Linked DNA regions of Homo sapiens: regions 1 and 3 are each linked to region 2. The links are contacts of gene promoters, found by promoter capture Hi-C in blood cells and fetal thymus (Javierre and others, 2016). All regions are on one chromosome and are shown on one strand. Each heading gives the region's core, a stretch centred on a gene start or on the middle of the fragment in contact. The rest is flanking DNA. Distances are from core to core; before and after follow the strand shown. Region 1 holds the start of PSD4 (pleckstrin and Sec7 domain containing 4). Region 2 holds the start of CKAP2L (cytoskeleton associated protein 2 like). Region 3 has its middle 4.6 kb from the start of TTL.

Region 1 (2,950 bases), core at 63-2,562, 410 kb after region 2:
TCCACCTCCCTTTCTCTTCCCCACCCTGCTCTGTATCACACGTGCATGTGGGTGGGTGACCTGCCCAAAGGTTTGAGCTCTCTCTACCTGCTCCCGTCTCTGCTATCAGGACTCTTGCCAGCGCTTCACCCAGTCTCAGGCTGCATAGGGCAGCGGTGCTGTGTGCCCACATGGGGAGGAGGCCATTTGGGCCCCAGAAGTGGAGAGTCTCGGGATCTGGGGCACGCAGAGTGTGGTGGAGAAGCAGGGTGCACGGGCTCCATGTTGGTATGTTCCTGTGGACTCTGTACCCTGCAGGGAGGGGTGCGGCTGTAGGTGAGCTAGAGCCCGACCCTCTCAACTCTGGGTCAGGGTGGCTGGTCCCCACTGCTGTGTGGACATGCAAGTGAGGGAGTCTCTGGGTCAGCTGGAATCATGAAGACGAGAGTTCAGGGAGGGTGGGAGTGGTGGAGCCTCAGCAGAGAAGTTGACGGTCATTGATGTTGAGGAAGTAGATTGTGTGGAGGGAGGAGAATGGCATGGTGTTTGCGCTCCCCACCAGCCTCACTTACACTTGTGGACACTGCGGCCGGTGTCCTGAGGACGTGTGTTGGGAATTCAGCCACGGGGAATGGAGGTCCCTTGGTTCATATAGTCACAGGCTCTGTATTCTAACCCCAGCTTTGTAATTTTCCAGCTGTGCAACCCTGGGCAGTGGCTTAGCATCTCTGAGCTTGCCTCCAGATCCGGATCTGTATGATGGGGTTATTAATGCTTCATAAAGTAGGTGTGAGGAGGGATTGAGGTACTATTGGGAGAAACTTTGTAACTAAAAGGCAATTGTATCATTTGCATTATTACCAGTGACATGAGACATAGTCACACAAAAATTGAAATGTCATTTGTTTTAAAACCAGAAATTGCCCAACTTAGGGCCCTCCTGTCTCTCACTGGGTGCCCTGCAGGGGACCAAGAGCCAGAGCAAGACTGAGAACCTGGGGCAGAAGCGCAGGGAGGAAGGAGGTGGGGCCTGCTTACCAACCAGGCCTCGGCCCCTTCCCCTTTCAATCCCAGGCCCCTGCATGGCAGGGAGAGGCCAGTTCCACCATGGCAGGTTCTTTCTAGGCTGGTGTGCAGGGTGGGGGCCTCCAAGGAGCAGGGGCATGGGGAAAGGGGCTGCAGGCGCTGGGCCTAGGAAGAGAGGCTCTTATCTTGTGGGCAGGAAGTGTGAGGTGTTGAGCAGCTAGGGAACCCTGGGGAGGCGGCGGGGAGCAGGAGGGGTGTGTGTTGTGGTGAGGAGGAGCGGAAGTCGGAAGCTCCAGCCGTCACAGCCACATTCACTGGGCAAGCCGACTGTGAGCCAGGAAGTGCTCTTGGGGAGCCCAGGCCAAGCCATCCATTCTTGGGTCCTTTGGAGGTGAGCTAAGTGGGTCTGCCTAGGTTGGGGCTGGTGGAACCTGTGGGAGCAGGGAATGTGGAGAGTCACATGTGGGTCCTTGTGGCAGGGGCTGGGGCAGGTGGGCAGGGGAGAGGCGAGGGCTCTGGCAGTGCCGTGTGCACCTGCCATGAGCCTGGGCTAGGCTAGGCCCCTCCTTCCCCCTTCCTGCTCTGTGTCCCGTCCCCCTCCTCCCTCAGCCTACCCCTCCTCATCTGACCCTTCTCTGATTCCCTGCCCTGGCCCCACGGACCTCTGTTGTTTCCCTTCCCTGGCTCCCCGCAGAGCCTCTGGAGGTCTGCAATAGTGAAGGGTGAAGGAAGCTCCTTGCTAATCCTCTTGTGAGTGTCACTGCGTCCCCAGTGACTGCTCTGGCTGAGTACCCAGTGGGGGCTTTTGTGGCCAAAGGTCCCAAGTGATTCTCGACCCTAGACTCTGGAGAGAGGGAGTCTGGAAGGCCTGGGTTTGGGGTGGGGGTGGCTCTGGGTGTGGTTGCTGCAGGAGCTCAGAGTCAACTTGGCCATCAGGGGGCTCCCAGCTTCATCTTGCCTTCCAGGACCATCCTGGAGAAGCTCGAGGAGAGGTAAGGGGACCCTCCTTACTGGTTTAGCTCTGGCTTAGGCCTGTTGTCCTGATGGGCAACAGGAACCACTGAACTCTCAAAGTGTGCCTGTGTAGGAAACTAAGGCCCACTGTAGTCATTATTGTTATAGTGAAGGTAGCTGCATGGAGGGAAAGTCCCCTGACACTGCCATTCCCCCCTTATTCCAGGGCCTAAAATTCCACAGTTGAAGTCACTCCTCTGCTAGAATGCAGGGAAGGGTGGCCTGTCATTAGCTGATGATAAATACTCCTCCGTTCATTGGACCTTGGACCAGCTTTAAAAAGTGGTCCCCAAGCAGGCCTGTCTCCCAGCTGCCTAGGACTCTAGAGCATCCCGTGGCCCCCTCCTCCTACAGACAAGGAACCGCCTAGCATGGGGATCAGAACACAGGCTGCTGAGCTCTTTGTTGGGGAAGGGGGAGAGACCCACAGAAGGGGTGAGGGATGTGGGGTGAGAGGACCCAGGGAGGAGAGGCCCAGCCTGGCCCCAGCCCCCTAGGGGTCTTTGTCCTCCCCAGGCAGCAGCTGTACTGGGTCCCCTTTGTCATTCTGTCCCTACCCCCGTGATCTCTCCCCTGGATACTCTCTGCCTACCTCAGACCGCCATCCTCTGCTCCCTTCCTGAGCCTCTGCTGGCCTCACCACAGGCCTTCAGTAGCACTGTCTTCTCTCTCTCTCTCTCTCTCTGTGTGTGTGTGTGTGCGTGCAAATTTGCATGATGGCTCTTTCTGTGTGGGCAGGATGTGGGGCCTTCTCGAGTCATTTCTCTCACGGTGCTTCAGACCCCAGGTTCAGACAGAGGCCTCTGTCCTGCAGCTCCAGGCCAGGGAGTTCCACTCATGGTTCCTGCCTGCAGCAACATCTGTAATTCGGCAGCTTCTCGGGCTGCAGAGGGACAGGACAGGTCACCTCCTAAGTCCTTGGACCGGCCAG
Region 2 (2,966 bases), core at 305-2,804:
GGATTACAGGCGTAAGTCAAAGCACTCGGCCTAAATTTACATTATTGCTTTCAATCCACAAAACAATCCAATGAGTTTTTGCAATCTGAAATTCAGAGAGAGTAAATGTCATGCCCAAAGTTACCCAGCTAATATGTGGCAATTCCAGGACTTGAAAACAGGCTTTTCTAACCCTGGAGCTCACAGCCACTGTTCTCAGCTACAACAGTCTGTTTTGAAGAATTTCTGTTACTGGCCCACCTGAGCTGGTGAGCCAGGCCTGGTCTTACGTCTTTTGTTTTTTTACAGGGATGATGATTTTTACCCACAAACCCTTATATGGCTTCCTTTGTTGGTACTAAGGATAAAATACGCCCGGTCTGCTCACGGCAGACACCTATACTATGGTGACTTTCTACGCAAGCCATTTGTGAGGGGATGACAAGTCAATAATTTCTGCCTTCAAGAACTTTCAAACTAGTAGTGGAGATAAAATCAACACAGCAACAATTACAGTATAAGGTAAAATCTAAGGGCCATAAGAGACGAAAAGAAGTATGGGAGTTCAGAGGTAGGGCATAAATGAGGGGAGTAGGTGGCTAGAAAAGGTTAAAAGTAAATAATGATGTGAAGGAAGACAAAAAGACGACAGGGGTGCCAAACGACTCTTAACCTCATCTGAACGGAGTTGCCCTGTTTTGCTCTCTGATGCTCATGTATCTATCCTTAGAGACAGCTTGGCGGGCAATGTAGAGCGTAGGGGCTGACATAGGGGGTTGGAGTCCCACCTCCGTGACTTCTAGCAAATTAGCAAACTTTGCTGCTGCTAAGCCTATAAGGCGGACAGAAATGCCATCTTTAAAGCTTGTTATGTAAAGTGCCTAGGACCTCGTAGGCATCAACAGGAATAATGGATGAAACAAAACAACGGTGCGTATCTTGGAGAAAGTGGCATCTGAGCAGGAGTATTTTGAAAGGTAGGAAAGGGCTCCAAGCACATCTAAGAGATTAGGGAACGCAGAAGCCTTAGCCCTGGGTGCAGATTTAACCAATCAACTTCTAACCACCGCAGGCTGAGAGGTGTGGAGTGAGAGCCCCGCCAGAGGCAGGAGACCCGGGCTTCGGCCAGACCCCGCCTCCTGGCACAGAGGACCACGCCCGGCTCTGCCTGGAGCCAAATGTGGATCAAAACAGCGCGCAGCTTCCCACTGCTGGTGAAAACCCGAGCAAGGGGCCTCAGTTTCTTTATCCGGAACGTGGTGACAATGACATCTCTTTGCAAGGCTGCTGCAGGGCTTTCTGGAAATACGCCCGTGAGGTATCTGGGCCTGCGCACAGCCTCCCCCGCCCAGGACCCAGACGTCTACCTGGGGGTCCCGTCTGCGCTCCCGGGATGGAAAACGCCCAGGGGAAACTTAGGCAGGCGAGCGGACGGGCACCTCCCGCGGGACGAACTCACTCGGTGGCCTCCTACTTCCCCGGCCGTGTTCCAACGCCTGAGAATAACGGGAACAGCGGTCGTACTCACCGACAGCGGCAGCAGCGGTAGGCCCGGGCCCCACCATGACTCTTCAGTGACAGTTTTTCTTCAAACGCCGCGCCTGTAGCCAGGACCGGCGTGCCGCGCGTCCACGCGTCCTCATTGGCTCCTGCGGGTTTGAAACTCGCTAGTCGTCAGCACGGGAGGGCGGGACAACAGGCAATAGGCTCTTTGCGGTTGGCTCTGGCCTTGAGAACCCGACCTTGGGGCCCTTTGATTGGAAGAACGTGCAGCGCACCTCGGCATTGAGGGCGGCTTCCTCGGGGCGCGGCGCCGCCCGCCTCTGAGTGCGCCTGTGAGTGCGCCTCCGAGTGGGCGTGGGACCCTCCGTGGGGGCCTCAGCCGGGCTGGTGGTTGGGGGGCGGTTACGCTGAATCCAGCTGGGGTTGGCGCGCCGGGAGTCCCTGGGCGGAGAGACAGGGCGGTCCTCCCAGGATGCTGGGGCCGCTACCTGATTCTGTCCTTTCAAAGTCTCAGACTCACAGGAGCTGTGAAAAAATAATATTATAAAGAGGACATATGGGTCTTATGCATCTAAAGGCTCCTAGTTCTTAGTACTGCAGGGTGGCTCGTTTAATTGTGGTAAAATATGCATAACATCACATATACCATTTTAACCATTTTAAAGTGTTAAATTTTTCAAAAATGTGCAGTTTAGTGGTATTAAGTACCCTCACATTGTGGCACAGCCACCACTACTGTCCTTTCCAGAACTTTTTCATCTTCCCAAATGAAACCCTGTACCCGTCACTAACTCCGCACTCCTCCCTCCCCCAGCCCCAGGCAATCACCATTCTAGTTTCTGTCTCTATGGATTTGACAACTGTAGGTGCCATATAAGTAGAATCATGCAGTATTTGTTCTGTGACTGGCTTGTTTCACTTAGCATAAAGTATTCAAGGTTCATCCATGTGTAGCATGTGTCAGAATTTCCTTTCCTTTTAAGGGGGAATAGCATTTCGTTGTGTGGAGATGCCACATTTTGCTTCTTGGTCCATCCCTCTCCGGACACTTGAGTTGCTTCCACTTTTTGGCTATTGTGAATAATAATATGAACATGAATGCACAAATAACTCTTTGAGACTCTCCTTTTCATTCTTTTGGGTATATACCACGAAGTGGTATTGTTGGATCAAACGGCAATTCTATTTTTAATTTTTTGAGAAACTGCCTTACTCCTCTCACGGTGATCTCTTGTTCAAGGTATATTTTCGATTTCACCTGATCAGCTGACTATAAGGCCATAAGGCTAACGGAGAAACGCAGGCCTAGTTTCTCCTAGTTACTAGGAGATCGCAGGCCTCGTTGTCCTGAATCCCTAGACACACTTCATTCCCCTTGTTTTAATCCTAAATTTTTTTTCTTTTGAAGTTTGTCCTGTTTCATCTATTCTCCAGTTTCTTAAAGAGGTCTGGAAAATGCTTTTGGCTCCTTGTGTATGAAGGTT
Region 3 (3,042 bases), core at 305-2,804, 290 kb before region 2:
TGTTTTCTTCTAAAAGTCCTTTTTTTTTAAGATGAGGTCTTGCTCTGTCGCCCAGGCTGGAGTGCAGTGGCACGATCAGAATTCACTGTAGCCTTGAACTTTTGGGCTTAAGCGATCCTAACACCTGACCTCCCAAAGTGCTGGGATTATAGGCATGGGTCACTTTGCCCACCCAGCAAGCTTTATTGCTTTACCTTCCACTTTTAAATGTATTCCATCATAACGCATTTGCAATTGATTTTTGAGTATAGCATGTGATAGGAGTCAAGGTTTATTTAGTTTTCCATATGGATATCCTTGACCCAGCTCCATCTGTAAGCCCATCTCTGCCCCTACTCATCTGCAATGTCACCTTTGATATAAATCAGGTTGTTTATAACATACATACAATGCAATTGTGAGTTCCAGGGCCACCTTTTTGAGGAACTCAAGCGAGGACACTGCTCTTCACAGCTGAGCATCCATTCCTCCTCACCCACAAACAGCCGCCCCTTGGCCACTGCCCAGGCCTATGGGTGCCTACACCAGCAGTGCCACTGACCCTTGGGACATGGGCCCGGGGAGGAAGCCTGAGCAGGGCCAGGAAATAGGCTTTGATCTCTGGACAGTGAATTCTGGTTCCCGGATATCTGGCACATCCTAGAAACTGGGAGGGTGACAGTCTCCTGGTGGCCATTAACTCCTTGACCTCACAAACGTCTCATCTGTAGGGAAGAATGTGGCTAGAGCAGGGCCGGAGTGAGAGCCTCTAAAGTTTTCTTACGTGGGCTTAAGAGTGGTGCTCCTAAAAAGCAAGCCTCAAAATCCTGAACTACTCCTCCCTTCATGTCTTTTCTTTGTGTCCTATACTTAGACCCCCAAACAACTTAAAATGGGTTTTCCCTACATGGGTTACATTGGTCTGTTTATTACATTGGTTAATTTTTCCCTTCTTATGCTAAAACCATGCTTCCTTAATTGCTACAGCTTTGTACTTACATACTATAACTTTGATAGTCAGGTCTTGATACCTGGTAGTGTAAATCCTCCAACTTTCTTAAAGATTACCTTTGCTATTCTTTTTTTTTTTTCTTTTTGAGTCAGAGTTTCTTTTTCTTTTTTCTTTTTTTTCTTTTTGAGTTGGAGTCTCACTCTGTCGCCCAGGCTGGAGTGCAATGGCGCAATCTTCAGCTCATTGCAACCTCTACCTCCCCAGTTCAAGTAATTCTCCTGCCTCAGCCTCCCGAGTAGCTGGGATTACAGGTGCATGCCACCATGGAATCTTAAAATCTTAAAAATCTTAAAAATCATGCCACCATGAAAATCTTTAAAAAGATTTTCAGTCTTTTTTAAAAAACATATGGCCGGCTAATTTTTTTGTACTTTTAGTAGAACTGGGGTTTCACCATGTTGCCTAGACTGGTCTCGAACTCCTAACCTCGGGCAATTTGCCCGCCTCGGCCTCTCAAAGTGCTGGGATTACAGGCATGAGCCACCGCGCCCAGCCAGTCCCTTGCATTTCTATATAAATTTTTGAATTACCTTGTCAATTTCCATGAATGGCTCTGCAGAGATTTTGTTTGGGATTGTATTGAATCTATAGATCAATTTGACACCTTAACAATTTTGAGTCTTTCAGTCATGAACATGGTACATCCTTTCATTTATTTTATGCTTTTAAATTTTCTCTCGATTATGCTTTGTAATTTTCAGTGTAGAGGCAATGCACAGCTTTCATTAGATACTCCTAATTATTTCACATTTATATTGATGCTACTGTAAATCGTATCTTTTAAAAATTTTTTTTCTATTTCTTTGTTGTTGACATACAGAAATACAATTTATATCTGTATATATACCTTGTATCTAGTGACTTTACAATGTTCAGTTATTCATTCAATTAGTATAGGTTCTTCAGGATCCACTATGTATAGAACCATATCATATGGGAAAAGTGACAGTTTTATTTTTTTCAAATTTTCCCTTAATAAACGGGTTATTTGATGGTACTATAAATGAAATTGTTTTCTTAATTTTTTCTTGGATTATTTTGGGCTGTTCCAAAAGTTTGCTGAATTTGTTTATTAATTCTATTAATTCTAATTTGTTTATTAATTCTAACATTTCGTGGGTATGTATGTGTGGGTAGTCCTTAAGGGTTTTTTTGGTAGAATTTTCTACATATATGTTATCTGCGAATAGAATCAATCTCTTTAATAGGTGTGAAATTATTCAGATTTTGTATTTCTGTGTCATTTTTGGTAAACTGGATTTTTCAAGGAAGTAGTCTATTTTGTCCACACGTCAAATTCATTTGCAAAAATTGATCATAGGATCTTCTTTCTTTCTTTCTTTTTTTGAGACGGAGTTTCGCTCTTGTTGCTCAGGCTGGAGTGCAGTGGCGCGATCTTGGCTCACGGCAACCTCCGCCTCCCGGGTTCAAGACCGTCTCCTGCCTCAGCCTCCCGAGTAGCTGGGATTACAGGCGTGCGCCACCACGCCCAGCTGATTTTTTGTATTTTTAGTAGAGGCAGGGTTTCTCCATGTTGGTCAAGCCGATCTCAAACTCCCGACCTCTGGTGATCCACCCGCCTCGGCCTCCCAAAGTGCTGGGATGACAGGCGTGAGCCACCGCGCCTGGCCGGATCTTATTGTTTTTAATACCTTCAGGATCTCTAGTGATGTTTCTTTTTTCATTAAAAAATTTGTTTAAAAATATTTTTAAATCTTCTTGCATCTGACCTTTTTCATTTTAACTTTGATTGTTCTTCCTTTCATTTGTTGGTCTTGAATGCTTAACAATTTTAAATTTTTTAAAATATATCCCCTTTGCCTTTGATTTCTTTATTGTACATTTATTTTCTACTTCCTTGATTTCTTCCCTTAGGATTTATTTCCTTTTACTTACTTTGGGTTTTGCTTATTATTCTTTTTCTAGTTTCATGAGATGGAAGCTTAATTGATTTTCAGTCTTCTTTTAAAAACATACGTACTTGGCCCACGCCTGTAATCCCAGCACTTTGGGAGGCCGAGGCGGGCGGATCACGAGGTCAGGAGATCGAG

What was found. Contacts are between HindIII fragments. The CHiCAGO score rates a contact against its expected background, and 5 or more counts as called.
Region 1: a contact is called between the fragment with the promoter of PSD4 here and the fragment with the promoter of CKAP2L in region 2, in 2 of 17 cell types (naive CD8 T cells and non-activated CD4 T cells). The highest score is 7.4, in naive CD8 T cells.
Region 3: a fragment that was not itself captured here is called in contact with the fragment with the promoter of CKAP2L in region 2 in 1 of 17 cell types (fetal thymus); the score reaches 6.9 in fetal thymus.

The regions. Positions count from the first base shown.
Region 1 is chr2:113,172,659-113,175,608 of GRCh38, forward strand. PSD4 (pleckstrin and Sec7 domain containing 4) reads left to right here and starts at 1,313. Exons shown (of 17, transcript NM_012455.3): 1 at 1,313-1,396. It overlaps LOC124907872 (a long non-coding RNA gene), which reads right to left. Exons shown (of 2, transcript XR_007087197.1): 1 at 2,612-2,950. RefSeq lists enhancers at 1-155, 156-656, 886-955, 1,006-1,175, 1,796-1,885. The HindIII fragment of the contact is 16,060 bases long and covers 1-2,950 here.
Region 2 is chr2:112,763,055-112,766,020 of GRCh38, forward strand. It overlaps CKAP2L (cytoskeleton associated protein 2 like), which reads right to left and starts at 1,555. Exons shown (of 9, transcript NM_152515.5): 1 at 1,508-1,555. The coding sequence starts at 1,544. RefSeq lists an enhancer at 1,185-1,324 and a silencer at 1,775-1,934. The HindIII fragment of the contact is 4,243 bases long and covers 842-2,966 here.
Region 3 is chr2:112,476,058-112,479,099 of GRCh38, forward strand. No RefSeq gene overlaps it. Among named protein-coding and RNA genes, the nearest start is that of TTL, 4.6 kb to the right of the region's middle. The HindIII fragment of the contact is 2,753 bases long and covers 179-2,931 here.